Linked DNA regions of Homo sapiens: region 1 is linked to region 2. The links are contacts of gene promoters, found by promoter capture Hi-C in blood cells and fetal thymus (Javierre and others, 2016). All regions are on one chromosome and are shown on one strand. Each heading gives the region's core, a stretch centred on a gene start or on the middle of the fragment in contact. The rest is flanking DNA. Distances are from core to core; before and after follow the strand shown.

Evidence for each region. Contacts are between HindIII fragments. The CHiCAGO score rates a contact against its expected background, and 5 or more counts as called.
Region 1: a fragment that was not itself captured here is called in contact with the fragment with the promoter of CIBAR1-DT in region 2 in 3 of 17 cell types (M0 macrophages, M1 macrophages and M2 macrophages); the score reaches 9.8 in M0 macrophages.

The regions. Positions count from the first base shown.
Region 1 is chr8:94,362,768-94,369,063 of GRCh38, forward strand. No RefSeq gene overlaps it. Among named protein-coding and RNA genes, the nearest start is that of FSBP, 71 kb to the right of the region's middle. The HindIII fragment of the contact is 5,452 bases long and covers 731-6,182 here.
Region 2 is chr8:93,695,501-93,702,162 of GRCh38, forward strand. CIBAR1-DT (CIBAR1 divergent transcript) reads right to left here and starts at 4,933. Exons shown (of 11, transcript NR_033858.1): 1 at 4,436-4,933. CIBAR1 (CBY1 interacting BAR domain containing 1) reads left to right here and starts at 5,050. Exons shown (of 9, transcript NM_145269.5): 1 at 5,050-5,173; 2 at 5,724-5,958. The coding sequence starts at 5,148. RefSeq lists enhancers at 4,569-4,648, 4,678-5,302 and silencers at 4,869-4,918, 4,949-5,088, 5,279-5,398. The HindIII fragment of the contact is 5,458 bases long and covers 2,217-6,662 here.

The DNA of each region.
Region 1 (6,296 bases), core at 2,207-4,706, 670 kb after region 2:
CCTCAAAAGTTCAGTTACCCTCCTTCCCTTGCTGCTGTTTTAGAGCAGAAGATGAAAGGGACCACAATGGTCACAGTTCATCCTAGAACTAGGAGTAAATGCTTACAGGTATGGGGTTTCTTTTGGGGGTGATGAAAATGTTCTGGAATAAGACAGTGGTGATGGCTAAACAACACTGTGAATGTACTAAATTCTACTGAATTGTACACTTTAAAATAATCAATTTTATGCCATATAAACTTCACCTCAATAAATTATTTTTAATTATGATTTATAATATGTGAATTTTACCTCAATTTAAAAAAACTGCAAAAAAAAAAAATGGAAATATCTCCACCTTCTTCCTCCTGGAAATGAGTTTGCGTGTAGAAAACACAAGCTCTCAAGGCAGGGTGCAGTGATTTTTGGCTGTAATCCCAGCATTCTGGGACACCAAGGTGGCTGGACTGCTTGAGGCTAGGAGTTCAAGACCAGCCCTGGAAAGATAGCGAGACCCTGTCTCTACAAAAAATAAAATAAAATTAGTCAAGCATTGTGGCACATGCCTATTGTCCCAGCTACTAGGGAGACTAAGGTGGGAAGATAGCTTGAGCCTAGAAGTTCGAGGCTGCAGTGAGCTACGATAGTGCCACTGAACTCCAGCCGGGGCAACACAGCAAGATCCTATCTCAAAAATAGCAACAATAAGAAAACAAAAAACACAAGCTTCTTCTGTGCCTCCGAACCCTGAAGCTTACCTGGGAAACATTTCCTCATGGGTAGGACAGAGCTCAGTATTAACAACCCACTTGGGTAACAGATGTAAAGCCAAGCCAATCAAGTAAGCTATTACCAAAAATGAAAGGGATATTTTGACCTCCATATGTACTTTTTGTTTCCCACCTTAACAAAGTATGAAAGCTGAAGGAATCCCAGAGCTGATGGCTCCCACTAATGGTGGTTTTCTACACACACTCAGTCTTGTCTCACATGACCACATGTATCCTCGGTACAGAGAGACTGAGACATTTGGAAGCCTAGCCTGGACTCATAAGAGTTCCACTCTGCTTTTGCAATCCATGCTTTCTCGTTGCCTGCTGTGTATGCTTTCTTAAAGATAAGTAAACCTAAAGCTGGATGCAGCCCACAGTGTCTTGTGACCTTGTGTTTTTGTCTTGTGAGTTGTCAGTTTGAGCAATCTGAGCAGAAAGGGTGGTCAATCAAATCAACTGCTTCAATTGTAAAATACCATGTCTATTGTTCTGTGAAAGGATAAACATAAGATTCAGATCTCATGAAATTCACACACCCTAATCCAAAACCCAATTCTTTAATTAATTCACTTGAAAAGAGAACATGATATGAAACACTCACATTAGTTCATTTTTCTTCTCACATATACATCTGTCTCAGGAACCTGGCATGGTGAAATCATAGAAAAGGCAGGACAGTGCACTGGAAAGAGCTTCAGATTTTGAGTTAAAAGAGGGGCTGGTGTTCAAGTTTCAGCTCTGTCACTGAATGATCTTGAATAATTATTTAATCTCTGTAAGCCTTAAATCTATAAAACGGAGATAATAGAGTATTTGCTCTGTTCAACTCTCAGCATTGTTGTGAGGAGCAAACCACTTATCTGTAAAGAGCTAAATAAATGTAGATTATCACATGTTTCAAGCACCTGATTTTCACGTGTTCATTTTGGTCTGCTTCAGAAAATCATTGATCCTATCTTATCTCATTTATTTATATTAGTCCATAATGGCTATACTGCATACATAATAAACAGAGGTTTATAAATACTAAACTTTTACTTAGCATCATTATATTTATGTAAGAGACAGAAGCATTAGATTGACATTCCTATAGATTTTCTTTAAACAAATGTAGCAGTTGTAATTTTGTTCCATTCAGATGCTAAACAATGGTATACATCTGTATTGGTCAGAATTGTCCAGAGATAAATAGATATATAGAGAGTTATTATGGGAATAGACTCGCATAATTATAGAAGGCAAGAAGTCCCAAAATCTGCTGTCCCAGTCTGAGTCTGAAGGCCTGAGAAGGGGATAAGGGGTTGCTATAGTCTGAATGTTTGTGTCCTTCCCAAATTCATGTTGAAACCATATTACCAATGTGATATTAGGAGGTGGGGTCTTGGGGAGGTGATCAGGTCATGAGGGCAGAGTCCTCATGAATGGAATTAATGCCTTTATAAAAGAGGCCCAAGAGAGACTCCTTGTCCCTTCCACCATGTGAGGTAACAGCTACACAGTGCTATCTATGAAACAGAGAGCAGGCCCTCACCAGACACTGGCTCTGCTGGTGCCTTGTTCGTGGACTACCCCCGCTCCAGAACTGTAAGAAACAAATTTCTGTTGTTTATGAGCTATCCAGTTTATGGTATTTTGCTATAGCACCTCAAATGGACAAAGACACGGGTGATAGTGTAAGTCCCAGTCTGAGTTCAAAGGCCTGAGAACTAGGAGCTCCGATGTCAGAGGGTAGGAGAAGATGGATGTTCCAGCTCAAACAGAAAGTAAATTTACCCTCCCTGCCTTTTCGCTCTATTCAGGTCCTCAAAAGATTGGATGATACAAACCAATGTTGATAAAGCAAATCTCTTCTATAGGTAAAGGCTAGTCTCTTCTAGAAACACTCTCGCAGACACATCCAGAAATAAATACTCAGGAAGGATTTTAACTCCCAATTTCAAATTCTAACTTGATCTATAATTACTATATAAACTATGCATACCTCCAGAGATGAAATTTTTAATAATAAAACAGGGAATGGGTACAGTGGCTCACACCTGTAATACCAATATTTTGGGAGGCAGAGGCAGGAGTTTGAGACCAACCTAGGCAACACAGCACGATCCCATCTCTACTTCAAAAAAAAAAAGGAATACGTGAAAATAAATACATTGCAGGTACAAAGGATTTTTTTTTTTTTTTTTAAACAGAGTCTTGCTCTGTAGCCCAGGCTGGAGTGCAGTGGCACAATCTCGGCTCACTGCAACCTCTGCCTCCCGGGTTCAAGCGATTCTCCTGCCTCAGCCTCCCAAGTAGCTGGGACTACAGGCACGTGCCACCACGTCCAGCTAATTTTTGTATTTTTAGTAGAGATGGGGTTTCACCATGTTGGCCAGGATGGTCTCGATCTCTTGACCTTGTGATCTGCCCACCTCGGCTCCCAAAGTGCTGGGATTACAGGTGTGAGCCACCGTGCCCGGCCAGAATTTATGCTGTAGACATTTATGATGTTATATTTTTTTTAACTACTCAAAAAAAGTCTTCAGTATTTTGTTGACATTTCCTCAAAAAATAAAAATAAAGGAATTGTTAATTTTGGTCTACTTTGGAATTTTATTATCTTCTTACTCACAAAAAATAATTTTTAATAAATCTAAAAAAATTGTAAAGATTAAATCACACTGAACACTTCAGGTTTTCAAGTAAGTGTAACAAATTCCAATAAACTATTGTCTGTCAATAAGGTACTTTTTTTTTTTTTACAGTTTTTACATCATAAAAGCTGTATTCTGAATTGGTATTGGTTTTGTGAACACAGTATCTTAGGGATAGAAATTTGTAATGGTTTGAAGCAAAGATCACAGGTTAGCTATAGAAAAGTGCCACAGGAAACTGGTCTAAACCAAAAACATGTTTTTATCATACAAGGTAAGACAAAATAATATCCCTTTCTATCAAGTCATGTTGAAGCCTTCCTTGAATACCAAAATAGCATATCTACAAATCCCTCTAGGATACAATATATTAATTTGGGAACAATTCAGAAAAACAAAGCCATAAGCTAATTATACATATTGTTTGCTGTGAGTCACAGTCAAAATTTTAATCTTGCCACATAATATTAGGACACAGTTGCTCAGGCAATGTGACTGTAGGCCATAATTGAGCCACTCAAATGAAATGCCAGCCAGATTTTTTTCACTTGCTCCTTTGTCATACACCCTTTTAAATGGATGGATAGGCTGTCTAGGAGTTTAGTTCTGCAGATCAGAGCTGCTCATGTTTAAATTCAGCTTTAGTAATTCAATCCTAATGAAAACGTGACTGAAATGTATTTGCATTGTCGTTTAGAACCAGAACATTATGACATAAAGCTGTGTGAAAGGTGTATTTGTGTAATTAGAAATGAATTATGTATGTGACTTAAATTATTACCCATTGCAGTGACAGCTTCTGTCAGCTCATGCAGCAGATTGACAGATCGCAATAACAAAAAGGGAAGTCTGGATGCTGTCAGAGGCAAGAAGAAACTGCTGCCTCTGCTTTCTTCAGTGTTGAGCACAGCTCCATGCTCAGCAGTTGGCGTAAATAAATACCTTGAAACTGAGATCTATGAGCAAGAAACATGATCAAGGTGGTTAAAGAAGTAAAAGAGGTAAAGTACCTCATTCATTCATTCAATTACTAAATAGCTATTCTATGCCAGGTCCCATACAAGGTCCTGAGAATATTAGGGTAAGTAAGATTAAATCCCCATCCTCAAAGGAGTCCACCAAGAGAGAGAGGGAGAGCATGCGACCACATGAGCATATGGACTGGGAACATAGAGAAAGGGAAAATTCTTATAAACAGCACCTCTCACGCAAAAGCTGCTTTATACGTGCAAACCAGGTGTTAAGGTCCCTTAACATGTGGATAAAATGAGTCTATACCCCCACAAATGCCTGGCTTGTCAAAGTCCAAAGTCTTCATCAATTCCCAGAGGGCTATCTTCTGTACTTCTCAGCCTCTGAGATCCCATGCCACATATGCTACCTTTATTCCATGTCACATGGGTTCTCCCATGAAATTCAGCCTCTTCTGAAATTTCTACTGCAAAATCACTCTCATGCAGGATACTGGAAGATTTCAGAGTGAGGCAGAGAAATGGATGGAAGGTTACTTCCCACACTACTTGGCAAACAAACAACTTTATGAAGAACAATAGGTATCCACTATAAAAACAGGGCCCAGCACCCTTACCTAAGGAGCTGAAATGTTCCTTTTGACAGATTTGTCTTGAATTGAGATAAGGGTGCTGGGCCTTTCTACCCAGCATCCACCAGTCTCAAATGTTGGCCAACCAGGGGAGGAGCATAATCTTGGGTGAGGCAGATCCTCTCAGCTGAGGGCTATTCTTGGGGAAGAATTTGGCTATAAGTGGCCCACAGGTGATGCTTCTGGCAGCTGGAGAAACAAGCGCCTTGGTTCTGAAAGGGGCAATCTGGGCAGCACACCCTTGCATACACCACAGTTAAGACAGGCAGCAGTTGCAGAGTGGCTGGAACTATGTGAATAAAATAAATACATACATACATACATACATACATACATACATACATACATAAATTTTTGTTTAAAAAGACAGGCAGAATTACCTGCCCTTTATCAATGTTTTTTAAGTACTTTATGCCTGAAAAGGATACGATGCAAGATAGATATTGAAAGTTTAGTTCAGTCCAGCAACATAGTGAGACCCTATCTCTTAAAAAAAAAAAAAAGTTGTATATAAAGCCTCATGCATGAAGTCTATATACATGGGGCCAAGAAATACCATTTTTACTTATTACTAGTTGGCTACTTCCTCACTGACGAATTTGGTCCCAAACTGCCTGTTCATGAATCCTAGATGTACAGCTAGCTACCCAGGTATGGCACTAACAAATTAAAAGAATTCATCCTTGATTATACATAACTGAGTATTTAACACCTCAAGACAATACAGGTATACCCCATTTTGTTGTGCTTCCCAGATATTGTGATTTTTTTAAATTGAAGGTTTCTGACAACCCTGCATCAAGCAAATGAGTGACACTTTTCCCCAAAACATGCTCACTTCATGTCTGTGTCACATTTTAGTAATTCTTGCAATATTTCAAACTTTTACATTATTATATGTTAGGGTTATCTGTAATCAGTGATCTTTGATGTTACTATTGTAACTGTTTTGATGTACCATAACTTATGCCCATGTAAGATAGCAATCTTAATCAATAAATGTTGTGTGTGTTCTGACTGCTCCACCAACTGTTGGTTACCCCATCTCTCTCCCTCTCCTTGGGCCTCCCTATTCCCTGAGACATAACGATACTGAAATTCGGCTAATTAATAATCCTGCAATGGCCACTAAGTGTTCAAGTGAAAGGAAAAGTCATATATTTTTCACCTTAAGTCAAAAGCTAGACAGAATTAAGCTTAGTGAGGAAGGCATGTTGAAAGCCAAGACAGGCTGGAAGCTAGGACTCTTGCATTAGTTAGCCAAGTTCTGAATGCAAAGAAAAAGCTCTTAAAGGAAATTACAAGGGA
Region 2 (6,662 bases), core at 3,683-6,182:
TCCATATTTTTGCAATTGTGAATTGTGCTGCTATAAACATGCATGTACAAATATCTTTTTTGTATAATGACTTCTTTTCCTCTGGGTAGATACCCAGGAGTGGGATTGCTGGATCAAGTGGTAGAGCTACCTCTAGTTCTTTAAGGAATCTCCACACTGTTTTCCATAGTGGTTGTACTAATTTACATTTCCACCAAGAATGTAAAAGTGTTCCCTTTTCACCACATCCATGCCAACATCTATTATTTTTTGATTTTTTGATTATGGCCATTCTTGCAGGAATAAGGTGGTATTGCATTGTGGCTTTGATTTGAAAAAAAAAAAAAAAAAAAAATCACTTTTAAGAGAGAAAGAGATCCTGGTACTCTGGAAAGAACATTGAAGAAAGAAGACAAAGATTCAGTTCCACCTCTGCTATCTAATCATGCAATTCTGGCCAAGGCACTTGTCCTCCCAGGCCACCAGCTCCTCTTTGATGAGATAATGTGTCCTTGGAAAAAGTATAGCCTATAAGAAAGAACATGCCTCCAAGTAGTAAAAAGATTTGAGAACAATTGTGTTAATGCATGTTTTTTAGATATCTGTTGACAGAAGAGTAAAATCAAGAGCCCGTATCTTAGGAGGAAATTTCCTTGAGCACTTTCATTTCCATATATTGAGTACAGATTGAAGAGGGATAATTCAATATGCTTCTGTTCAACAATTATGATACCATTTACCAAGCATTTGCTAACAGCTTTAAGAGTTACACAATAGATCCCAGCACTTTGGGAGGCTGAGGCGGGCAGATCACCTGAGGTCGGGAGTTTCTGATCAGCCTGACCAACATGGAGAAACCCGGTCTATACACCCGGGAGGCGGAGGTTGCAGTGAGCTGAGATCACGTCATTGCACTCTAGCCTGGGCAACAAGAGCGAAACTCCACCTCAAAAAAAAAAAAAAAAAAGAGCTACACAATAAATAACTTGCTTTAACACATCAATAGCTTCACATTGATACAAAGACAATGATTGTAATGGTTAATTTTATGTGTCATTAGGCATTCCACCAAACATAATTCCGCATGTCTGTGAGGGTGTTTACGGATGAGACTAAAATTTGCATAAAGGAGAGTGCCCTCCCTAATGTGGGCAGGCCTCATCCAGTCAATCGAAGGCCTGAATAGGAAAAAAGTCTCAGTAGGAGGAAACTGCTCCCACCAGACTGATTGACTTGGGACGTCATCTTTTCTAGCCTTCCCAGTAGGACTCAGTCATCTGTTTTCCTTGGGTCTCCACCCTGTTTGCTTTCAGACAGGAAATAAACCATCAGCTCTTCTGGTTCTCCAGCCTTTGGACTTGAACTGAAATGACATATTGGCTCTCCTGGGTCTCCAGCTTGTGAACTGCAGATTCTGGGACTTCTCGGCCTACATAATTACTTCAGCCAATTCCTTATAATAAAATTATACAATATATTATATATTATATTATATTATATTATATTATATTATATTATATTATATTTACAAACACAGACTATTAGTTCTGTTTCTCTAAAGAACCTTGACTAATACAAGAACCAATCTCTACACTCCTTAGCATGGCCAAAATGCCCTATACGACCTGGTTTCCATCTACCCCTCCAACTAAATCTCAGACAGAACATGATGCCACCTCCTCCACTCCACCCTCATCAGCTTTCTTCCATGTCCTCACACATACTGTGTTTCCTCTGTCATGGGGTTTTCACTCATTTATTTATTTATTCATTGATAAACTCAACTAATTATTGAATTTCTACTATGAGTCAAGCACTGAGGTTGTACTGGGAATATAAAGTGAACAGGTAACAATGTGGCTAGTTTCATGGAGAATATGTTCTAGTCACAGAAGACAGAAATAGATCTACAGCCATACCTGAACATGCCTGATCTTGGAAGCTAAGTGAGGTCCAGCCCGGTTAGTACGTGGATGGGAGAAGACAGAAATAGCATGTAAATAAACAGGTTAATTTCAGGACGTGACATGTGCTTCAAAGGAAACAAAACAGGGTGAAAGAATCATTTGGTGATCAGAGAAAGCCCCACTCATAGGTGTTTTTTAAGTACAATTTTATATGAAGGGGCCATCCATGTGAGGACTTGAAGAAGGAGCATTCCAGGCAGAGAGAATTACAAACACAGAACTAACTGTGAGATAAGTTTATCTATAGATAAACACAGAGAGAGAGAGAGAAGCTTATATACATATATATGTGTGTGTGTGTGTGTGTATATATATATACACACACACACACACACACACACACATATGGCATGTGTCTATAGCACAGTGGGGCAGCAAGAGAAGGTAGATAGGTAAGCGGAAATGAGATAAAGCCTTAATAGCCAGAATAGGATTTAAATTTTTATTTGAAGCACACTGAGAGGCTTTGGAGGGTTGACATCATCTGATTTAATGTTTGATTTCACACTGCGATGTTTAACAGTGGACATGGGGAGACTAGTAAGGGAGGTTTGCAGTAAGGATGATTGGTGGTAGCAGTTTGGATTATGGGGATGTAGAAAAAAATGAAGAATGATTCAGGATATATTTTGGAGATGGAACAGATAGGAATTGCCCATGTGACTGGAGAAAAGAAAGGGTAACTCCTAAGTTTTTGACTTGAACAATCAACTGGGCAATAGCATCATTTTCTGAGATATGAAATTCTGGGTAGAGATGGGAATGGGGCTGGGGGAGGGCAAGGGGACAAACTGCTCATACTGTCCTTCTCTTGGGACTGTTTTTCACTCCCTCTTCACCTAGTTGACTCCTTCCTATTCTTTGGATCTCAGCTCAAATGTCACTTTCTCAATGAAGTCCTTCCCTGATGAGTTCAAACCAAACCTCTATATTAAGTATACACTCAATTGCTGCCATGTAGTTTCCCCTAATAGTAGACTGGAAAAGTAGCCACCAATTCCTCTACCAACCACACCATCCGTAACATTTCCACTGCCCTCTCACTCTGATCCCTCTAGTCTAGGCCACATGGCTTGCATCCGCCAATAGTGTATCAGCAAACATAACATAGGCAGAGACTTGAAAGGCACTTGTGCAGTTGACTTGTCCTGCTCCACTGTTTTGGAACTCTGAAACCATGGAAAGAAGCCTGGCTGAGGTGCTAGACAATAAGAAACACGTGGCCCCTGCTGACGACCTGCCAATGCCGTGACACAGAAGTGAGGCCTCTTAGATCATCCAGCCGCCAGCTGACCAGAAAGGTGAGTAAGAGCCCAGCTGAGCAGAACCAAGGTAAAAGAACCACCCAGCTCACTCAGAATCCCAAGCTAACCAAACGATTGTAAAACGTCACTAAGTTTTGTGGTGATTTGTTACACTGCAAAAGTGGATACAGTAGCACATACCTCAGTGGCAATTTTACACATCTTTGATTAGCTTCTATCACTGCCACATAACTGTGAGCTCTCTAAAAGCACAGACTATTCTGACCTTAGGTTACTGTGCCAACCTCAAAGCCAAGCATAATACCTGGAACACACCAGGCATCCAACCAATAACATGCTGAGCGAATGCAAGGAGCAAAGAGAGATACACATTGTAACACAAGCGAATAGGGGAAGTTCAAAACAAAGGACTGAGGACATCTATTTGTACAAAATAAAAACTTTTAATCAGCAGCACACGGCAGCGAGGAATACAAGACCAAAATCACATTTAATCTGTCTCAAAGGGTTCAAAGTCTAGGGTACAGGAGGCAGTACAAAATCAACGAAGTGTACTGTTTGAGCATTCCAACACTTCGCTCCTTCAGACAGTATTAGGACCCCGTCCCAAAGCGTTAGGACAAGGCCCTAACGCTGCCTGAAAAAGTGAAGTGACGGAGGATCCCAGAGAGGTTTCTTGAAGCAGATAAAGTCTGAATTGAGGCCGGGCCCGGTGGCTCACGCCTGGAATCCCAGCACTTTGGGAGGCTGAAGGGGGGCGGATCACTTGAGGCCAAGAGTTCAAGACCAGCCTGGCCAACATGGCGAAACCCCGTCTCTACTAAAAATACAAAAAATCAGGCCAGCATAGTGGTGCACGCCTGTAATCCCAGCTATTTGAGAGCCTGAGGCAGGAGAATCGCTTGAACCCAGGAGGCGGAGGTTGCAGTGAGCCGAGATTGTGCCACTACACTCCAGCCTGGGCAACAGAGCGAGACTCCATCTAAAATACATATATAAATAAACAAAGTCTGAATAGAGTCCTTGCAGTATTTACTGGGAAAAGCAGCACACGCAAGGCCAGGAGGGTCAAAGGGACAGAGGCGTTCAAAGGACAAAGGAGAGCCTCCTGTTTGTTTGGGGTTTTATTCTTTTTGAATTTTTGTTCCCCCAGGCCAACTCTAAGAGCCAGAACTGTTCGTTATTTATCTCAGCACAGGTTCGGTGTAAGCGTTGCCTCCTTACCCGACGCTCAGGCCCTTCAGGTCCGGGACCCCTGCTTCTTAATTATGTTTCTATTACTCCCAGTGTCTAACACAATCTCTTCCACGAAGTCGGAACTTGATACATATTTGCTGAATAAACGAAAAGTTAAAGATGAGGCAGAAAGCACAGCTCCTTCCAAGGGCAGCTCTCAAGAGCCCACGTTTTCAGATTCAGCAGTGAAGCGGACGCGTCTGGTACGAGACTACAAGTCGCACAGGCGGAGAGGGGGCCCCCGGGCCTCTGGTTTCACGTCTCCCTCCTGGTCCCCGGCGGACCGGCGTCTTTTCTCCCCTGCTCGGAGTAGCCTAGCAGCGCTGGAGGCTGGCTGTCTGGTAAGCGCGGCTGTTAGAGAGGATGGAGGCGCCGTAGCCCCGCGGTGCTTCTCACAGCCTTCGCCGGCAGGGACGCGCGGGACAACCGCGCAGGCGGCTCTGCAGGGGTGGGCGCGCCATCACCCCTCTCGGTCCCTGCCTGCTTGGCGCTTTCCGAGCCCCAGCCGCGCTCAGGCTGCCTCGGGCATTGACCGCGGGGGCGCGCGCCCCGTTTCCATAGAAACGCCCGGCCTGCCGCGGCGGCGCGAGGGGCGGGCTTTCAGGCTCCCGGCGGCTGCTTGCGCCCCAGCGCGCGCCCAGGCGCCTTGGAATCCCCGTCCTTGGGCCCCCGCAAGGTCCCCGGCCGTGCGCGAGGCAGCATGATGAGGCGCACCCTGGAAAACCGGTAACAGCCCGAGCCCAGCTGCCCAGGGCCGCCCACACTGGAGGGCTGGGGTGAGGGAAGTGGAAGCCTCTGTCCATGGGGCCTCTGCGCCGAATTCCGACCCTGAGTGGGAGGCTGCACGGTCCCCGCTGTGACCTGGGGCCTAATTCCTTGGGCTGCAGCCACCGCCGGCGGCGAAGAGGAGCCCGGGGCCCGGCCGGCTGCCACCCACCCACGCCACCGGGTCTCGGGTCCCCACACTGCCGCGGGCAGTGCGGAAGCCTAGGAGGCAGCCGGGCGCCCAGGCCGCGCTGCGCGGAGCAGCCGGAGCAGCCACCTCCCCAGTTAAGGCCAGGCCCACCCGGCCTGGGCCTTTTCCTGTGCCTACACAGTCCGGATAGTGAGGTCAGGACCCCATGGAGAGCAGTCCGCGCCGGGAGACGCTGGGTCGTTGATGGGTTTACGCCTTCAAAGCTGCAGAATGCCCGGGGAATGTTTGCATGTTAAATTAACGTGAAGCCTTCTCATCTCTAACGAGAATGTTTTGCCTTTTGTGTCACCTTTTCCCTAGGAACGCTCAAACGAAACAACTGCAAACAGCTGTCTCAAATGTGGAGAAGCATTTTGGAGAACTGTGCCAAATCTTCGCTGCCTATGTGCGGAAAACTGCCAGGCTGAGAGACAAAGCAGACCTCCTGGTGAATGAAATTAACGCGTATGCTGCTACAGAGACCCCGCATTTAAAGCTGGGCCTGATGAACTTTGCAGATGAGTTTGCCAAACTTCAGGATTATCGACAAGCAGAGGTATGGAGTGAGATCACAGTGTCATTGTTATGAATGAGCCATGAAGTAGTGGATGAAGGAACCGTGGAAACTTTCACTTGTAATCTACCTAACTGCAGAGGTGGATGCAAACTTGATAAAACGTACATTTTCATAAGACTGTGTGAGTCTATTAAAGAGAAGCGTTCTGTGTTTTATTTTACCCTTTTCAAGCTAACCTTTAGGGCATCTTGAGGTCTTGAATTTCCCCACTTTATTTGCCAACTTTTGGCCAAGGGGTGGCTGTTTACTGGGGGTAGTGGGAATAGTACCCAGGGGGAAGAAAATAAGCATAACTTAATGTCTTGTGTGGCACATAAGTACGTTTTAAAGAATGACTGGAGATGGAAATGTTGGGAATGGTAATGTGGATGGATAAATTATTAATAAATGGGTAAGACATCATTGCTGCATCCATGGTTTGGAAAATTGACCAATGGTTTACTAACAACAACAAAATGCTATGAATTGTATCATGGAAGCAAACCAATACTGAGACACCGTGTGGACTTTTTGCTCTGGGTAGCAGGAGAAGTGTCCTTGTGATTGTTTTCTTTCTAAAAGCCCATATTTTTCCTTTAAATACTTAATAAGCACTTTTACTTGTATTTATTTTCAGTTTCACGGCATAGGTTAACTTATCAGAAGTTGCCCAGTTAGAACTGCGTTGCTTTTTTATACTTTTC